2 separate regions of the Homo sapiens genome follow, and region 2 is linked to region 1. Evidence: promoter capture Hi-C in human tissues and cell types (Jung and others, 2019). All regions are on one chromosome and are shown on one strand. Each heading gives the region's core, a stretch centred on a gene start or on the middle of the fragment in contact. The rest is flanking DNA. Distances are from core to core; before and after follow the strand shown. Region 1 holds the start of TUFT1 (tuftelin 1). Region 2 has its middle 9.9 kb from the start of SELENBP1.

Region 1 (5,208 bases), core at 4-2,503:
GCTGGGATTACAGGCGCGTGCCTCCACACCCAGCTAATTTTTGTATTTTTAGTAGAGATGGCGTTTCACTGTGTTGGTCAGGCTGGTCTCAAACTCCTGACCTTGTGATCCGCCCACCTCGGCCTCCCAAAGTGGTGGGATTACAGGCATAAGCCACTGCGCCTGGCCAGCAGTAAATGCCTTTTTGAGGGTTAGAGTAGAACAGACCAGAACTGGGTTTTATTCCCTTGGGTCATAGTGATAACCCCAGCATTCACTTCCCAGGTAGAAAAATCCTCATTCATTCCTAACTGACATAGGACCCAGTCCCTAACTGGGAGGTAGGGACATTTCTGCTGTTCCTGCCCTAGTGTTGCCTTGAAGAGGGAGCTGGCCCTTCACTAGAGCCTATTGCCAGGTATAGGAGTACTATCCCTTCAGGAGTGGGTCAGACCTCCTCCTAAAGTATTCTGTCTGCTGTCTCTGTGGACCACAGCCAAGTGAAGAAGCCATCTGCCAAGAGCAGCTGGGCGGGGACGAAGCTCCAGGGTCCTGCTTGGCCAACCCTCTCTTCTAGGCCCTCAAGATCCCAGCCTAGGCTTGGGGAGAAAATGCAACTGGAAAAGTCAAGGCTCATCCTTTCTCACGAACACAAATTCCTTTTAAGGCAATGTGTCCCGCCTCTCCCAACTATATAAGGGCAGCGTCAGTAAAAGAGCTTCTGCAAAACAAGCCCCACCCAGAGCCTAAGCTGACTGGGCCTCCTGGGCCTCTTGCCAAGGAAGTGCACCTGCCAGACTGGCTTAGGCCAGTCTGAGTGAGCTGGACCTTGGTGCCTGCCTTTCTGCGGTGGAGGAAAGGTTTACTCAGCTCCACAAAGCCTACAGGTGGCTTACGTATAGGGAGAGGAGCATGTATGGAAGGAAGCTTTTGCAGGTTCCAACTCCTCATCCACTAGGAGCAGGCAGGGTGATTCCCTCTGACCAACACTGATCTTGGAAAGATGGAAAGCGACAAGATTAATGAAGAATGTGCAACCACATACTCCAGATAAAGCTGTTCAGTTAAAGCAGCCCCATGTCGCTCCCAAGCCCCACCTTTGTGTAAATCTATGCGAGCACCGATGGGGCATGTCCCAGACCCATTGGCTCCGCCCACCTCACCTCCTCGCCTATCGTTAGTTCTCTGCGAAACCGCGAACTGGGGGCGCGGCCTATCTTCAGCCCCGCCCCTGATGGGCCTATACAAGGGGGCGGTTCCGCGCGCGCCCGCCCAGTTGGAGCCAGACAGCGGGGTGGACAAGTGGCGTGTGTGCTGCGACCCCGAGGGAAGATGAACGGGACGCGGAACTGGTGTACCCTGGTGGACGTGCACCCAGAGGACCAGGCGGCGGTAAGAAAAAGCGCTCTCGCTGTCTTCTCCGTTTTGTATTCCCGGTTTCTAAGTCCGCCCCTTCCGTGCCCCGCGCCGTGTTGGCTGACATCACCTGGTGCCCGGCTCGCGCGGTCAGCCCTGCGCGGCGCTTCTCTCTTTTTATTCTTTTGCCTGCGACGGGCAGTGGGAGTCGCGGGGTGAAGACTCCTTTGAGGCTGGAGGGTTCGGGGCGTCCCTGCCCTTTGGTAGGACACTGCGGCTCCTGCCTGGGACTCGGCGCCGGCGAGCCCGTGCTTGGGCCGCGGGTCTCAGGCGTCTTTTGGGCAGCCACATTGGGTCATAAGAGAATGAGCTCAAGCGACTGGGTCCCTGAGCGCCTTTGGACGTTGTGTCCTGCCGAGGAGGCTTAGGCTTTCCCGTGGGTCGAGGGTCCTGGTGACCTCCGAGGCCCTCCAAAGAATTTCATCATGGTGCTTTGGATGATCAGTAACAAGAAAAATGGTAGAGTAAATTACAGGGCTTGGACTGGAGGGCGGGGGGCAAGTAGGGGACGGTAGGACTCAAACTATTCCGAGATTGGCTAGGGACTCTACCTTTCGCTAAGGGATAGGGCTTTCCGCCCGGGGGTCACCTCTTGTCTTGGATTTCTCCTTCTTCCCCCTTGTAGTTCTCTTGTTTTCCTCCCTCTATCTGCCTGCCGATAGCTTCCTGGGACGGTGTGTTAGTTTTGCTTCCGTCTCCAGCCGCCAGGCCCTGGGATAGTGGAGGAAGGGGATGCAGAACCCGGGCCGAGAAGGGGAGGGAAGTGACCCAAGCGAAGGCTTCTGGACGGGGAGAGGGTTGCGGAGAAAGGGGGCGTTCTCCAGTGCAGGCTGGTCTACCCCTCTCTCCTCTTTCTCTGGCTCCCAGTCCCAGTTCTCCCCACCCTAGCTGACCATATGGTTTTTCCTCTCCAGAGGCTGAGGAGGGTAATTTGTGGCTGAGTGTTTCTAGGCTCTTTTGGGGAACTTAACCCAGATTAGGTGTGTACTATTTCATCAATTTCCAAGCTATTGTGGGTGGGAGTGAAATGAAAACTAAGGTGATGGGGAACTTGTGTATCATCCCCCCTCCCACATCTGACTCCCTTACTCTCTGCCTGCCTCATCCTGCTCTTGAGGTAGAGCTAACCCAACTGCAGCTAGATTATGGCTCTTCTTCAAACTCATTTCAGGTTTAGAATACAGATGGTCATTTAGTTCTTTTCCCAGTCCCCTCTCCATTTCTGCCTGGGCTATGAGTGTTTTTGCCACATTAAAATACAGATGTTGCTATTGGCCAACCCCAGTTGCCCAAACCCCATTCTTCTGTAGCCTGCCACATCCCCAGCTATGAGACTCTGAAGAGATGGAAGAAATCTATCCATTATGTGTCAGCCACAAGTCCTACTCCCTGCTCTTTGTTTTTAAGCGACGAGTGTCTTGCTATGTTGCCGGAGCTGCAGTACAGTGGCTCTTCACGGGTGCAATCATAGCACACCACAGCCTTGAACTCCTGGCCTCAATCCTTCTGCCTCAGCCTCCTGAGTAGCTGGGACTTCAGATGCACACCACCTATAGCTTCTCTTCCATGCTCTTGCTCTCTCTTTTGGAATAGTTGAGGGAAAAGGGTATGAGATAAATAAAGGAGAGGGATGTTTGGGCTGCTTTTTGCTTGCTTGCTATATAGAAAAGAGATCCGGAAAGAAGTCTAAGACCAAGTTGGCACTGGCAGTGTTAATGAATCATTAACCTCTACTATTTTTTTTCTTTCTTCCTTTCTTTTCTTTTCTCTTTTCTTTTCTCTTTTTTTGAGACAGGGCCTTGCTCTGTTGCCCAGGCTGGAGTGCAATGGCATGATCTCAGCTCACTGCAACCTCCACCTCCTGGTTTCAGTAGATCCTCCTACCTCAGTCTCCCCAAGTAGCTGAGACTGTAGGCACATGCCACCACACCTGACTAAAATTTTTTTTTTTTTTTTCTGTTGGTAGAGATGGGATTTCACCATGTTGCCCAGGCTAGTCTCGAACTCCTGGGCTCAAGCAGTCTGCCCACCTTGGCCTCCCAAAGGCTTGGGATTACAGGCATGAGCCACTACATCTGGCCCCTTTTACTCTTTCTTGATGTTTTTGCTCTTTGTCTGGTGGGGCAGAAAAAATTACTAAGAGAAAATAATGGACAAGGAATTCAGATGGTCTCCATCATAGGTTAGTTTGAAGCTAACCAGAGACCTCTAGAGCAAGGGAGAGACAGAAATTCCCTTTTATTCCTTTTTTCTAGGCTGAACTTGAGACTTATTTTACTCCAGAGCTGGGAATGAAGTAATCATTGCCCAGATCTGATCTTGGAGACATTCCTGGGCCCTTAAGGGAGGGGAGGAGATGGTGAACAGTCGGGACACAGGCCTTGTCCTGGATTCCTCTTCTCTGAGCCAACTTGCAGACAGAATTTATGGCTCTGGACAACCCCCAGGAATCTGTCATATATTCACACCACTGAATGGGTGCTCAATTCATGTGCAAAGTGAGTCAATAAATAAATGAACAGATGTTTCTTCCGGAGTCAGAATGTAGACAGTTGAACTGATTAGAGATCCTACTGGGAGTGAGGGCCCTGGGACTCTGTTGGTGTTTCCCCACTAGCCAGGCAGTGTGCCTTAGCGTATCACATGTGGACATGGACATAGGGCCAATACACTCTCTGGGATGTTTTTATTGTTGGAGGCAGATGCAGCAGGTACAAGGAGCCAGTGTTTTTCAGAACTGCAGACCATAACCAGTAGTGGGTCTGAGATCAACTTAGTAGGTCAGACCAGTATTAAAAAAGAAATAGAATTAACACTCTTAGAGTGTTAGTGAGGATAGACATTTTTGGTAGAACTTTTATTTCAGTTATATATATATGTGTGTGTGTGTGTGTGTGTGTGTGTGTGTGTATTATATATGTACGTGTTTGTTTACTGGGTCTTGATGTGAAATATGTTTTTGAGATTGAAAAGTTTTGCAAGCCACTGTGGTAAGTTATATTGGCAAATAAAAGAACAAATAAACACCAAACTCCTTTTTACTAGATATTTCCATTAACTTCCTTTGGTTATAAACAACAGAGAATGACTCCAGCTAAACTAAGCAGATGAGGAAATTATTAGAAGGAAATAGAGCAGTTCACAGAATTTAAGGGAAAGCTTAGAAAGCCCTAACCAAGGATGTTCTGGGGCCTGGGTAAGTGGAACGATGGAGGCTTACTACTATTGGTGAATTGGTTCCAGCTGTTTTAGGTCTCTGCACCATTATGCTCAAGATTCCAGGGAGAGAGTACCATTGTCCCTTGGCCCCCAGTTGTCCAGAGCAGGACAGGGTTCCTTGACTGATAGGCCCCCCCCAGATTACAGTGATGGAAGGAGATTCTCCAAAGACCCAAGTGTTGTTATCAGTGGAGGGGAATGGAAGCTGCGTGGCAAAAGAACAGATGTCTATGACATTAGACTTTACCATGGATGATCTCTGATTTCATTTCCCTCCTTCCCTCTCTTCCTTCTTTCCATCCTTCTTTAAATCACTTTTTTTTTTTTTTTTGAGACAGGGTCTCACTCTGTTGCCCAGGCTGGAGTGCAGTGGTGTGATCATAGCTCACTGCAGCCTTGAACTCCTGGACTCAAGGGATCCTTTCACCTCAGCCTCCCAAGTAGCTGGGACCACAGGCATACTCAACATGTTTAGCTAATTTTTCATTTTTCGTAGATATGGGTTCTCACTATGTTGCCCAGGCTAGTCTTGAACTCCTGGTTTAAAGTAATCTTCCTGCCTCGGCCTCTCAAAGTGCTGGGATTACAGGTGTG
Region 2 (5,368 bases), core at 36-2,535, 160 kb before region 1:
AAGAATTGGATTACAGGGAGCAATTTTTATTTTTCACATTATGTATCAATCATATTTTTAAAATTTTATATTAAGTTTGAAATACATGTGTAAACAATTGAAACAGTGAAAGAATACAGTAACATTTTTGCCTATAAGATGGGCAAAAAATTTAAAGGTTAAAATCTTGTATTGGTGAGACTATGCGGCAAAGGGACCACTCATTTAGGACTAATGAGAGTGTCAATTGGTGCCTTACTAACAAAAACAATTTGTCAATACCTCACAAAAGTTAAACTGTGCATACTGTTTTACCTAGGAATTTCACTTCAAGGATGCAATCCCATGGAAATACCTGCACAAGTAGGCAAGAAACAGGTACAGGTTGAGGCGGTGGCTCACGCCTGTAATCCCAGCACTTTGGGAGGCTGAGGCAGGTGGATCCCCTGAGGTCAAGAGTTCGAGACCAGCCTGGCCAACATGGCAAAACCCTGTCTCTACTAAAAGTATAAGAATTAGCCTGGCGTGGTGGCACACACCTGCAATCCCAGCTACTTGGGAGGCTGAGGCAGGAGAATCACTTGAACCTGGGAGGTGGAGGTTGCAGCGAGCCAAAATTGCACCACTGCATTGCAGCCTGGGGCGACAGAGGGAGACTCTGTCTAAAAAAAAAAAAAAAAAAGAAAAAAGATATAGGTACAGGTTGAGCATCCTTAATCTGAAAATCTGAAATCCAAAATGCTCCAAAATCTGAAATGTTTTGAGCACCAGTGTGACACCACAGGTAGCAAATTGCGTGCCTGACCTCACGTGTTGGGTCACAGTCAAGACTTTGTTTCATGTACAAATTATTTAAAATATTGTATAAAGTTACCTTCAGGCTATGTGTATAAGGTGTTTATGAAACACAAATAAATTTGCGTTTAGACTTGGGTCCCATCCCCAAGATATTTTAATATATATATATGTATTCCAAAATCTGAAAAAAATCTGAAATCTGGAACACTTCTGGTCCCAAGCAGTTTGGATAAGGGATACCCAAACTGTAATAATAAAATAACAACAGCTATCATTTATTAAATACATGGTACTGTTCGAAGTACTTAGGGATAAAGAAAGAGAAATGAACCACATCCACCTCATATAAAAGCTTTCCATGTGCCAAGTACTTCTCTGAGCTATTTGCATGTTCTGCCTTTACTTATACAGGGTTTACAACATCCCTATGAAGTGGGTATTTTCATTATGTCCAATTTACAGATAAAGAAGTTACAGCATAGAAAGAGGAAGCAACTCATACAAAGTTACACAGCTAGTGAGTAGCAGAGCCCAGGATCTGAAGCCAGGCAGTAGCTTCAGGCTCTGGCCTGGGACCTCTATGCACATAAGTTCGCAGCCCCTTCAGACAGAATGCTTTTGTGTTTTGTTGCTTGGATGGCTGGCCAGCACATTCAGCCCTTTCTATATTGGGTGGGAGGCAAAAGGCCAGATACTCACCGTCCCAGGCCTTAGGCCTCCTTGCTGCTAGGAGCAAGCATGTGACTTGGTCTTGGACGCAGCCAGGTGTGCCCACCGGAGACTCCAACACAAGGAAGTAGGGAGTGGGTTCTGGTTGCTGCAGGGAAGGCTGGTGTGCGGGTGGGTCACCATGCTGCAGAACCTCCCAGGGTCCAGCGCAGCTGGTGGTGCCATGGCAGCACATAGAACTTGAGGGGTAGAGGCAGTGTCCTTTGATTGGGATCTAGGACAAGAAAGGGCTCTCTGGCTGCAACCACTTCTGCCACTGGGGCCTTATGATCGAGCAGATCCAGTGATGCTTGGTGAGTTGGGGTGATCCATGGGATGAGGCAGGCAAGAGGCAGAAGGAGAGTCCCCAGGGTGACCCCAAATGATTGAGCCCAGCCCACTTCAGCAAAGAACAGTTCTCTTGAAAAACAGCCTCTTCTGAGCTTCTGGGTCCCAAGAGAAACCAAACATGAGAGGATGGGACACCAGGTGGCCTTTGACTCAAGCCTCCTTATGAACTGGGGATTATCTGATCCACCTAGCTAGCCCAGGAACCAAGCCCAGGAGCTCATCATCCTTAAGTAGAACTGGGTTGAGCCCGAAAGGAACCCTGAGAGTGAAGCTGCCAACAGCAGAGAGAAGCTGCGGAGTCGCCTGGCTAGCCCTGTCTTGCCAATACCCTCTCCCCTCAGTCCACCCTAAGAGCTTTAGAAGTTATACATGAAGACTACAGAGAAGAAAAACATTCTAGGCTGGGTTACAGGTGGCTGGCTCTCCACTATACACCATCATCAGCCAGAAGTGGTCTATTATTAAGAGATTAACAACAAGAATTTTAGAACCAGACTGTGTGTGTGAATTCCACTTCCACCAGTTACTAGCTTTATGAATCTGGGCAAGTAATTTAACCTCTCTGTACCTCGGTTTCCTCATCTCTAAAAGAGAGAAAATAAAATATCTATTCCCCTCATAGGGTGTTTTGAAAATTGCATGATGATATACATAAAGCTCTTCGAAAAGCACCCAGAACCTAACATACGCTGTGTTGTTGTTGTTGCAGCAATACAGCCCTTCTGAGAAAGTTCTAGAGAGCTGTTGAACAACAGTGTGAAATACTTAACACTACTGAGCTATACGTTTAAAAATGGTTAAGATGGTAAATTTAATGTTTTGTGTTTTTTTGTTTTGTTTTTTGAGTTTCGCTCTTGTTGCCCAGGCTGGGGTGCAGTGGCGTGATCTTGGCTCACTGCAACTTCCGCCTCCCAGGTTCAAGCGATTCTCCTGCATCAGCCTCCCAAGTAGCTGGGATTACAGGCTCGTGCCACAACACCTGGCTAATTTTTTGTATTTTTAGTAAAGGTGGGGTTTCACCATGTTGGCCAGGCTGGTCTTGGACTCCTGACCTCAGGTGATCCACCCGCCTCGGCCTCCTAAAGTGCTGGGATTATAGGCATGAGCCACTGTGCCCGGCTGAAAATGTAAGTTTTTAAACATAGAATTTTCTAATTGTGATTTTCACTTTCAGGCTGGGTGTGGTGGCTGACTCCTGTAATCCCAGTGCTTTGGGATGCCAAGGCAGGGGGTCAGTTGAGGTCAGGAGTTTGAGACCAGCCTAGGCAACATAGAGAGACTGCATCTCTAAAAAAAAAAAAAAAAAAAAATTAGCCAGCATGGTGGGGCACACCTGTAGTCCTAGCTATTTGGGAGGCTGGTGCATGGGATTCCTTGAGCTCAGGAGTTTGAGGTTACAGTGAGCTGATGGCGCCACTGCATGTCAGCCTGGGTGACAGAGCAAGACCCTGTCTCTGGAAGAAGAAAGGAAAGAAAATGAGTGGTCTTTTTATTAAATTGCAGATAATTAGAAATGCCTCTTTATTAAAAAAATAATAATAAAGCTGTTTTGAAAGACGGCCTTCGAAGTTACTGTCATTGCATTGGACACGTTGCCTTGGAGGAGACGCAGCCTGAGGGTCTGCCCTGACTCATGAGCAGGGCCCATGCTTTGCTGGGTGGACAGACTTGGATAGAACAAAATCAAAGGGCTGGTGAAAGGGGGTTTGGGAAGAAGGCCTGTGAATGGACCTCACAGAAAGAGCCCAGAATGCAAGAATATTTGTGTCTAGTGTAGCCATTCAACCAGCAGGCCCTCTCCCTGGAGGATGCTCGTGACGATGGAGGGTGAGGCGAACCTGTTCTGTGGATGTCATTGTTTTCTCACTGATATTCCATGAACAAAGAGGTTGTGGTGGCTAGAGCAGAGGCTGCACATGGCCTTGCCAGCATGGACCTCCTCTTTCTGAGTCAGGCCCAGTTGGAGCCACTGCTGAAGACACAGAAGCTACCACAACAGTCCACCACCTGGGGAAGGGTTGTTTCCACTACTGTCTGCCAACATGGAGGGAGCAGAAACGCATTCTCTTTAGAAGGCAGTTTCATATTTCTAGGTTTGGATTTGCGTTCTCTGACCCGATACTGCCACCACCACCATCTATAGACATCCTGGATGTCTCATACACTATCACAGTGCCCCACACTGAGTTACCACTTCTGACAAAGGGTCTCACTGTACAGTGAAAGACGGGTAATGATACCCAGCGTGTGACGAGTCCTGCAAGTGTTAACCCATCTTCACAGCAAACACATAGATCTAGGCACTATTATTAGCTCCATTTTACAGATAAGGAAACTAAGTCACAGAGAGGTTTCATAAATTGCCTGAAGTCAACTGTGAGTAGTGAGGTCCGTATTTGAACCCAGACACTATGGCTCAGAGTCCATGCTGTGAACCCATGGGAGTCATGGATCTTACCATGTACCTCATCCCTCAGAAGCAGCTGGCCTTAGGGAAGACTCAGTTATGGCAAAACCTTCTGAGGTTGGAGTGCTGGCCACAGAATGCAGTTTATGCCCTGAACCTGCAACCATTCTGCAGCAGCGTTTCTGTCTCAGCTGGAATTCATGATGGGCCCAGGATCAGAGAGGTAGAAGTGGAAGTAGGGCCTCTCGCTATTGCACCTGATGACCCATTCACAACATTTTCACGTGCAGTCCCATGATGCTGAGCTCTGCTAGGTGGGAGGTTTGATGCCCCACAGAGATTAGCTTCCACAAAAATAAGCATTGAACTGGAAGCTGAGACAGCTACCTTGCTCTTCTGGGCTCCTTATGCCATCGAGTGAACAGGCAGAAAAGGAGAAGATGTGAGCTGTGGTGATCAATCCTGACATCTTGATGATTTACAGGAAAAAGAGTTGCTGTTACACAGCAGGGCCAGGGAGGAGGATGGGAGGAACCCTCAGCAGCCCACAGGAATATCTTGTACCACCATGTCCAATAGTTAAGGTTAACAGAAGATGAAAGCATGAGATAACCAAGACTTCAGGTCCTCTAGCAGCAAAGGCTTAGGTCACTCTACGAGGAAAGAACCCCAACCATCTTCAGTCCTGGCTGTACTAACATAGTGGTTAAGAGGCTGAGCTCTGGTACCAGACTGGCTGGGGTTCGAATCTGTGTGCTAACACTGCTGGCTGTGTGCCTTTCCTTACGTTAGTTTGCACATCTATAAAATCGAGATGATAATAATTAATATCTCAAATGGTAATTTTGAGAATTAAATGAGTTAATACTTGTAAAGCACTTAGAACATGTTCTGGCATGTAATAAGCACTCTATAAATGTTACCTATTATTAAGTCAAAGGAATGAGAAGTAAAAGGGAACCAAGTCATAAATACTAGCTACAGCCTCAGGATCAGTTGGGAAAATGAGACTATGACACACAAAACCCTGTACAGAAATGTTTATGCCAGTTTTATTTGTAATAGCTAAAAACTGGAAAGAAAAACCCCAGATACCCTTCAATGTGTGAATGATTAAATGAACTA

Evidence for each region. The method cuts DNA at HindIII sites, captures the fragments that hold promoters and counts their contacts. A contact is called where the count stands out against the background at its distance.
Region 2: a fragment that was not itself captured here is called in contact with the fragment with the promoter of TUFT1 in region 1 in 1 of the 25 tissues and cell types used here (liver).

The regions. Positions count from the first base shown.
Region 1 is chr1:151,539,056-151,544,263 of GRCh38, forward strand. It overlaps TUFT1 (tuftelin 1), which reads left to right and starts at 1,254. Exons shown (of 13, transcript NM_020127.3): 1 at 1,254-1,371. The coding sequence starts at 1,312. RefSeq lists enhancers at 1-515, 1,031-1,546, 1,547-2,061. The HindIII fragment of the contact is 14,328 bases long and covers 1-5,208 here.
Region 2 is chr1:151,379,960-151,385,327 of GRCh38, forward strand. No RefSeq gene overlaps it. Among named protein-coding and RNA genes, the nearest start is that of SELENBP1, 9.9 kb to the left of the region's middle. The HindIII fragment of the contact is 4,780 bases long and covers 1-3,675 here.